Linked DNA regions of Homo sapiens: all the other regions are linked to region 2. The links are contacts of gene promoters, found by promoter capture Hi-C in blood cells and fetal thymus (Javierre and others, 2016). All regions are on one chromosome and are shown on one strand. The core of a region is centred on a gene start or on the middle of the fragment in contact, and the rest is flanking DNA. Distances in the headings are between cores, read along the strand shown.

Region 1 (2,700 bases), core at 72-2,571, 310 kb before region 2:
AATCAGGGAAACAAAAGTTACAGCTTCCTAGGTTACAGCTGCCAGTTTATGTGACTCAGGTCCCATAATCACATTCCCTTAAGGCTCAAAATATTTTAAGGTTCCAAAAGCTTAGATTTTGAATTACTTATTTTCACACCCTATATATGTTAACCACGTATTTGCTTTATCTTATGTACAACGTCACTGAGCACCAATCAGAATTGTAGGAATGTCACCTTTGCTTCTCCATTTCCATGTAACAGAATGTATAAATACTATCTCGTGTAGCCCACTTGGGGAGACATTTTTGGTTTGTTCTGAGTCTGTATTTCCCAGAGAATTAGTCCTCAAACTTCACTCGGGATAAAACTAACTTTAAATTTCTTTAAGTTATAGTGCCTGTTATGTAACCTTTCTGTCAATAGTATCCTGCTCACAGCACCAAAACTTAGGGGGCAAGGGAAAATTCTGCTGAAAAATCAACTCACAATAGGTAAATTAATAGGAGAAATGACATAGAAATGTACTAATATCCACAGAAGGAAAATCGCAGTGATTACCCCCACTCCCCAGTGGGGTTCTGAAGCTTATGTACTATCTTGAGGTTACATTAACAATGGGGGCTCACAGCAGGGCCAAAACCAGATTACAGTGTTAGATCAGTTTATGGCGGCAACAGAGGTTATGGAGGGGAAGAAGAGGAGGGCTGGCTAGCAAAGGGGGTCTTGTTATGTAGATGAAGCCTCACAGGTAGCGGCCCTCGAGAGAGAATAGGTGGTGAATGTTTCTGTTAGACTTTAAAGGTGTCAGACTCTCGCTTAATCTTTCCCAGATCTGGATGAGGGAAGGCCTCAGAGACAGCCTGGCTTCATCAGTGCAGATTTCTCTACAGATGCAAATCTCCCCCACAAAAGGCAGCTTTTTAGTTATTTTTGTATTTCCAACCCTTCTGAATATCTGCCTTGAGCTATGTCGAGAAAATATATTTTATGGTAAAATCATTTGATTTCCTTCAGATGCTTTGATATTGTGATTTTGATTTTTGTTCCTGGTTCCTGGCATACCAGCTCCTAAACTCTTGGGATGTCTGGAGTGATAAGTGTCTTTTTGTATGCTAGTGAGATGATTAGTGGCTGGGGGTTCCCAGATAGCCTTAGGATGGGGCTGGTTGACACGGAAACCAACCATACAATTAGAGGTTTGGCACTTTCAGCCCCACCTTCTAACACTGGAGAGTAGAGAGGGCCTGAAGCTTGAGTTGATTACCAATGGCCAATGATTGATCAATCATGCCTACATAATGAGCCTCCAGAACATTCCAAAAAGATGGGGTTCAGAGAGCTTCTGAATTGCTGAATAGATGGAGCTGTCTGTAGGGTGGCATGCTTACAGGATGCCATGGGGGTGTGCTGCAGGACAGGACATGGAAGCTTATTGCCCCTTACCTTCCATACCTTGCCCTATGGATCACTTCTGCCTGGCTATTCATCTACATCCTCTGTAATATTCCTTACTAATATAATAAGCTGGTAAACATAAGTAAATGTTTCCTTGAGTTCTGTGAACTTCCTAACAAATTAGAACGGGGTTGTGGGAACCCCAATTTATAGCTGCTCAGTTAGATGCATAGGTGACAACCTGCTACTTGCAATTGGTGTCTGAAAATAGGCCAGTCTTGTGAAAATAGAACTAAGCCTTAACCTGTGGGATCTGACACTATGCCCAGGTAGAGTGTCAGAATTGAATTGAATGGGAGGACTCCCACTTGGTATCCACTGTAGAACTGCTTAGTGTGTGAGGACAAGCCCACAGACATCTGGTGTCAGAAGTGAAGTGTTGTGTTGAGTGGTGTGAGTAGGAAAAGCAGTTTGTTTTTTTCATCTCTCTTATTAAGACCCAAAGTAAGGGCTTGAGCCCCTATAATAAGTGTAGCAGCTCCTGCCATAGCTCGAAGGCATCCAGGTACCCAGAAGAACTGAGAAGTATGCTACTGGTCTATCGTCTAATACCAACTTTTGAATTAAATTCTACTGTGGCAGGCCAGGTCTCACTAACAGCTGAACAGGCAGGCCTCCATGCCAACTGCTTCGGCACTGAGTGGTTAGGTTAAATATTAAAAGCTGAAAGACCCAGGGCCCCTATACAAAGGCTGGAATATAACAGAAGCCCACCAAGAGTCTTGCTTAGGCCTTTTCTGGGCCTTGAAGCATGACAGGATAATGAAGGAATTCTTAACAGGACCTGTTTAGAATTAAACAAGTTTTATTTTTTATTTTTTAAATGGAGTCTCACTGTGTTGCCCAGGCTGGAGTGCAGTGGCACAATCTCAGCTCACTGCACCTCCGCCTCCTGGGTTCAAGCGATTCTCTTGCCTCAGCTTCCTGAGTAGCTGGGACTGTAGGCATGTGCCACCACGCCCAGCTAATTTTTGTATTTTTGGTAGAGACGGGGTTTCACTATATTGGCCAGGCTGGTCACAAACTCCTGACCTCAGATGATCCACCCACCTCCGCCTCCCAAAGTACCGGGCATACAATAGGTGTAAGCTGCCATGCCCGGCCAAGATTAAACAAGTTGGGTTTTTTGTTTTGTTTTTGTTATTTTTGAGACAGAATTTTGCTCTTGTTACCCAGGCTGGAGTGCAATGGCACGATCTCGGCTCACTGCAACCTCCACTTCCCGAGTTCAAGAGATTCTCCTGCCTCAGCCTCCCAAGTA
Region 2 (2,700 bases), core at 117-2,616:
AAAATGTAAAATATAGCAAAGGGGCACAGAAAAAAGTCTGCCTCCCTCCTCCCTGCTCCATCAGCTGTCAGGTGCTGCCCCACAGAGGGGCCACTGTTACCAGTTCCTTACTCCCCTTCCTGAGATACTCAGCCCACTTGCAGACCCGGCATAACTTTTAACATCAGCAGAAATAGGGTATTTCCATTTTTTTAAAAAACCCTATATATCATATGTAATATATAATTATATTGTATATAGATATATGGTCCTGCCTACATTCCAGCGAGTGGCTTCCAATCCTTCCTCTGCCTCCCCTCCCCATAGGCTGACCCCTAATCCCAGGCTTTCTGCACAGGGAGGAGGGACCTGCTGGCATTGAGGGTGCTCTAAGCCTGGCCCTTCCATGGTCCCTCCCTATGTTCTGATAGGAGGCTGGGAAAGCCCCCTCACTGGGACCTCCTCAGTCCCATGGGCCAGGCCCCTCCTGCTGACCACAACCCAGGAGAGAAGGTCCCGCTTCTCTCCCGAGCCTTGTACGGTCAAACCAAGGCAGGCAGCCCAGGTGGGAAGAGCCTGGTGAGCGTGGGACGGGATTGGCCTTGCACCCCAGCATCGCCACTTGGAACTGTGGTCTCTGGGCTGGACGGCCTTCCCAGGACTTCCCCGAGAGACAGGTTAACAAAGGTGCCACTTCACAGAGATGAGTGGACACCATCACGTCGCAGCTGCACCCAAATGGGAGCTGCTGCAGCATGCACTGGGGGCCTCCCCAGAGCCCGTCGCCTCACACCCCACATTCCTGCACCCCGCTCCTCTCACCTGTGCCAGTGTTGACTTTGCCCCCCAGTGACACCTCCTCCCCTCCTCATTGCCTTCCATCCTCACAAAAGCTCTGTAGTGATGCCCATGAAGAAGAAACGGTTATGAGTGCATTTTACAGATGAGGAAAGGGAGACTGAGAAACGTTTAATGCTGTATCTGATCTCACAGTTAGCAGGTGGCATGTCAGGGTTTGAACCCACATGCATCTCTGTCAGCAGCTCATGCCTTTAGCACTCGGCTCTGCTGCCTTCCTTCCAGTCATGGAGTCTGACGGCCCATCAGGGCCTCTCACTCCACGGCCACCTTGGTGTCCCTGCTCCGCGGATCCCTGGGACCTCTGCCTCCTGGTTTGGGGGATGGCAGAGCTGCCAGAGGTCCAGGAGGATGCTCCAGAGATGATGGTCCCAGAGGCAGGGACCCCCTGGAGAGATGATGTAGGACTCTTGACACTTAGGGCCCCGGCTCTGAGTGCAGACTCCACCTAGACAAGAGAAAAAATAAGGAATGCAGGGAAGAGGATTACCTTTGACACAGCCTCTCCCGGTAACTGGGGCTCCTGGAACGGCAAGAGCCAAGAGGGGACGTATTTAAGGACCCTGCTTCCCGTCCATTGAGCCCTTGGAGTTCCTGCCCAGGAAGTTTGCGTGACAAGAAAAAAAAATATTCAAATGTGGGGTGTGGCGTCCTCTGGACCTCTGCTCCCTACAGCCCAGGTTTTGGGGATTAGGTCCCGGGCTGTTTGCTTTTGTTCACTTCTGAAATGCGAGAATGTTTCTGAAGGCTTGGGCAGGGCACATCTCCAATCTTCAAAAGAGCCTATGTTTGCCCTGGGCGTGGGGGCTGCTGATTGATTCAGCCTGGCATGGAGCTCTTCCAGCTTTCCAGACTTGCCGCTGCCAGATGCGGTTCTCTGAGTTCTCTGGTTACATAAGATCGGCAGGGCTCAGCCACGAACCACAGTGAGAGCATGCAGCTCCCCCGAAACGCACCCCCAGCCACCGCTGCCCCGGGCCCTTCACATCCCCCAGTGTGCACAGGGCCCCATTGAGTCAGAGATCCTAACCCTGGGGAGCCACAGGCTGGGGACTTTTGATGGGGGTCTCCAATCCATAAATCTGCTCTCTCGTTGAATAGCTGAGAAGAGGGCCAAGGGTCTGTGTGGTCACCGAAAACCAGAGATGCTTGGGAAGGAAGGAGTCTGGAAAAGCCGTTCCCACGCTGTCTGATCAATGTTCGCTGGGCTCCTGCTCTGCACCACGCTGTGGGGAGGAGGCAGGTGTGGAACAGACTCTCGGCCCCTCTCACCAGGCGCTTCCCGCCACCCTCACCCGCCTGCAGGCAGACTGCTTACCAGCATGGGGTCCCTGCTTCCCATTTCATTCGAGGAAAACACAAGGTTCCGGTCCTGGCCTACGAGTCCTGAGGATGTGCTCTGGCCCTCCTGCTTCTCTCCACCTGGAGCCCCCTTCCCCTACATCCACCCACACGGCTACGCTCCAATGTGCTGTGGAAAATAGCACAATGCTGTCGTCTTCCTCCATTATTTTTTCTCTGGAGCGTTTATATCTTGTTTGCTACCTGTCCCTTAACTCCTGACAGCTAGAATTTGATTTGTTCACTGCTGTAACCTCCATACAGCATTTATAGTAGATGCTCAATAAATATTTATTGACTGACAAAATAAACAGGAAATTTCAAAATAATGTGAACACTGTAGTAACCAGGTAGGCAGAGGATGCTAGAGGGGCTGGGGTGAGAGTCCGTGGGAGGGAACATCATCTGAGCTGAGTGAGAAGCATTTGGGCAAGGAACAGCAAGGGGGCTGGAAGAGCAGAAGCAAAGGCACAGAGGCTGGGAACGTTATGTCACGAAAAAGTGCGATGTGTCCACTGTTGC
Region 3 (2,700 bases), core at 39-2,538, 290 kb before region 2:
GGCATCTCCAGATGACAACCCCCACAAAGCACTCATAAGTAAACTCTTATGTCAATTGACTTGACTTACTGTCAATCAAGGAAAATAACCCAGGCAAGTCTCAATCATTTTGGGAGGCCTATTTGCCAAAGTTAAGGATGCACTCCCAGAGACAGGTCTATGCCTTTCTCTGAAGATAATTTTGGTGGCTTCAATATTTAAAGGGGAATGGGCGGAATATTGAGAAATACACAACTTTCATGTGAGAGCGGGGTAGGGAAAAACAGTCATTCATGCCTTTGCCTGGCTCAGTGAATCTGAATTTTTACATGAGATGCCATAGACCATAGGGCAGAGGAAACAGTAAGATATGCATTTGTCTCACATGGGCAGAAGCATGAATCTGAGCTCTGTCGTATGTCCCAGCACCTGTGAAGATAAGCTATCAATTTACATTGCCATGGTGAACTGCAAGAGAAACATTTTAGAGTAAAGATCTTGAGGCCCATAAGGATCTTTACCCTAAAATGTGAGGGAGGTATGTAGCTTTTCATCTTTGCAGCCATCTTATTTGTGACCCAAAATGGGAGGCAGGTTTGCATGCGCTGGTTCCCAGCTTGACTTTTCCCTCTGGCTGAGTGAGTTTGGGAGTCTCAATATTTATTTTCCTTTCACACACCTTTCAAGATGTCTTTCTTCCCATAAATAAGGACTTGAGATGTGCAATCCAAGTCCAGCTCCTAAAACTAAAGTCTGTTGTTGCATTCCACGCTGACAATGTCCATTACAAGCTTATCTTCCGAGGGGCAGAACAAAGTCGGCATGAGATCAACCATTCCTTCCCCTACCAAGAGACATCAGCATAATTGAGACCTCCTTTACTCCCCTCTTCCTTCAAACATTCACCTTATCTGATGTAAAATGTAGGTTTACTGGACACTAACTAAAGTCTCACAAGAATGTAACATTTGCCTTGCCACCTACCTGCCCCTTTTCCTACATGCATTCCCCCACTTTAAGGAAATTTATATGTACAGAAGCTCCTGAAAACTTCTCCACAAAAAAACAGCCACAGGTGCGTCTCTGGCTTGAGTTTTTCCTCAGATGTGCCCTCAAGCTCTAGCTTACTAAACCTCAAATCATTGAGCCTTGCCTCAGTCACTCATTTAGGGTACCATTTATAAACATGTGTGATGAGGCCCCCAAGTACTCCCATTTTTGCTGGAGTGAGAACCTTCCCTCTCTCCTCACAGTGATGCTGTAGCTGCCTGATGGGTTCTTCCTGGCCACTGCACAAAGGAGACCAATGCATTGCAGTAAAGAAAGAGTTGAACAGATGTAAGGCTGCTCACGCCATGTGGGAGACAAAAATTATTACTCAAATCAATCTCCTTGGGCTGGACATGGTGGCTCACACCTGTAATCCCAGCACTTTGGGAGGCCAAGGCAGGCAGATCACTTGAGTGCAGGTCAGGAGTTCGAGAACAGCCTGTCCAACATGGTGAAACCCCGCCTCTGTTTTAAAAATACAAAAATTACCTGGGTGTGGTGGTGGGTGCCTGTAATCCCAGCTACTCGGGAGGCTGAAGGATGAGAATTGCTTGAACCCAGGAGGTGGAGGTTGCAGTGAGCTGAGATGGTGCCACTGCACTCCAGCCTGGCTGACAGAGAGAGACTCTGTCTCAAAAAACAAAAACAAACAAACAAACAGAAGATCAATCTCCTTGAAGGCTCATAGGGTAGGGGTTTTTCAAAAGTAGTTTGGTGGGCAGGGGGCTAGGGTATGGGAAGTGCTGATTGGTTGGTTCAGAGATGAAATCAGGGGATTGAAGCTTCCTCTTGCACTGAATCATTTCTGGGTGGGGCCACAGGAGCAGTTGGCAGATCCTGGTGGGTCCAGGTGGAGCCATTGGTGTCAGACATGCAAAAATCCTGAAAAGATATCTCAAAAGGCCAATCTTAGATTCTACAATAGTGATGTTATCTGCAGGAGTAAGTGGGGAAATTGCATGTCTTGTGAGCTCTGGAATAATGGTAGTGATTGTTTATGTGTACTCCTTGGCAGAATCCAGGCTTCTCTTCCTCCTAGCCTGGTGGTCACTCACTAGCTTTACAAAGGCAATTGAGTTTTGGGAAAGGGCTATTAAAATTTAAACTATAAACTAAATGTCTCTCAAAGTTAGCTTGGCCGAAGCCCAGGAATAATTAAAGGCAGCTTGAAGGCTAAAGGCAAGAGTGGGGTTGGCTAGATCAGATCTCCCCCTCTGCCATAATTTTCTCACTGTTACAATTTTTGCAAAGCCAGTTTCAATGTGACTGGAGGGAGGAGAGGGTCCTTGTTCTCAGGAAAACAAAATCAGTCTGTGGAGGGAGATCTGTCCTCCCCTGTGGCTACTCAGTGATTATAGCGCTGCACAGTTGACCCTCGAACAACACAGGTTTGAACGGCATGAGTCCACTTACACGCAGCTCTTTTTCAACCGAATGAGGATGAAAAATACAGTATTCATGGGATGCAAAGCCCACATTTACAGAGTGTTGACTTTTCCTGCAAGGAGGTTTGGCAGGGCTGACTGTGGAAGTTGAGTATGTGGGGATCTGGTTATATGCCATTGGTCCTGGAACCAGTCCCCACATAGATCAAGGGACGACTGTATTTGATATTATTTAGGAAGCTTCTGAGCTCAGATTGGCCATTGGTTGAAAGAGTTATTATCAAAG

The links. Contacts are between HindIII fragments. The CHiCAGO score rates a contact against its expected background, and 5 or more counts as called.
Region 1: a fragment that was not itself captured here is called in contact with the fragment with the promoter of ALDH3A1 in region 2 in 3 of 17 cell types (naive CD8 T cells, naive CD4 T cells and naive B cells); the score reaches 5.5 in naive CD8 T cells.
Region 3: a contact is called between a fragment that was not itself captured here and the fragment with the promoter of ALDH3A1 in region 2, in 1 of 17 cell types (M2 macrophages). The highest score is 5.8, in M2 macrophages.

What each region holds. Positions count from the first base shown.
Region 1 is chr17:19,432,757-19,435,456 of GRCh38, forward strand. No RefSeq gene overlaps it. Among named protein-coding and RNA genes, the nearest start is that of LINC02094, 16 kb to the left of the region's middle. RefSeq lists an enhancer at 441-979. The HindIII fragment of the contact is 178 bases long and covers 1,233-1,410 here.
Region 2 is chr17:19,746,932-19,749,631 of GRCh38, forward strand. It overlaps ALDH3A1 (aldehyde dehydrogenase 3 family member A1), which reads right to left and starts at 1,367. Exons shown (of 11, transcript NM_000691.5): 1 at 1,328-1,367. The HindIII fragment of the contact is 17,326 bases long and covers 1-2,700 here.
Region 3 is chr17:19,454,350-19,457,049 of GRCh38, forward strand. All of the region lies in intron 1 of LOC105371574 (a long non-coding RNA gene), which reads right to left. Among named protein-coding and RNA genes, the nearest start is that of LINC02094, 37 kb to the left of the region's middle. The HindIII fragment of the contact is 1,041 bases long and covers 769-1,809 here.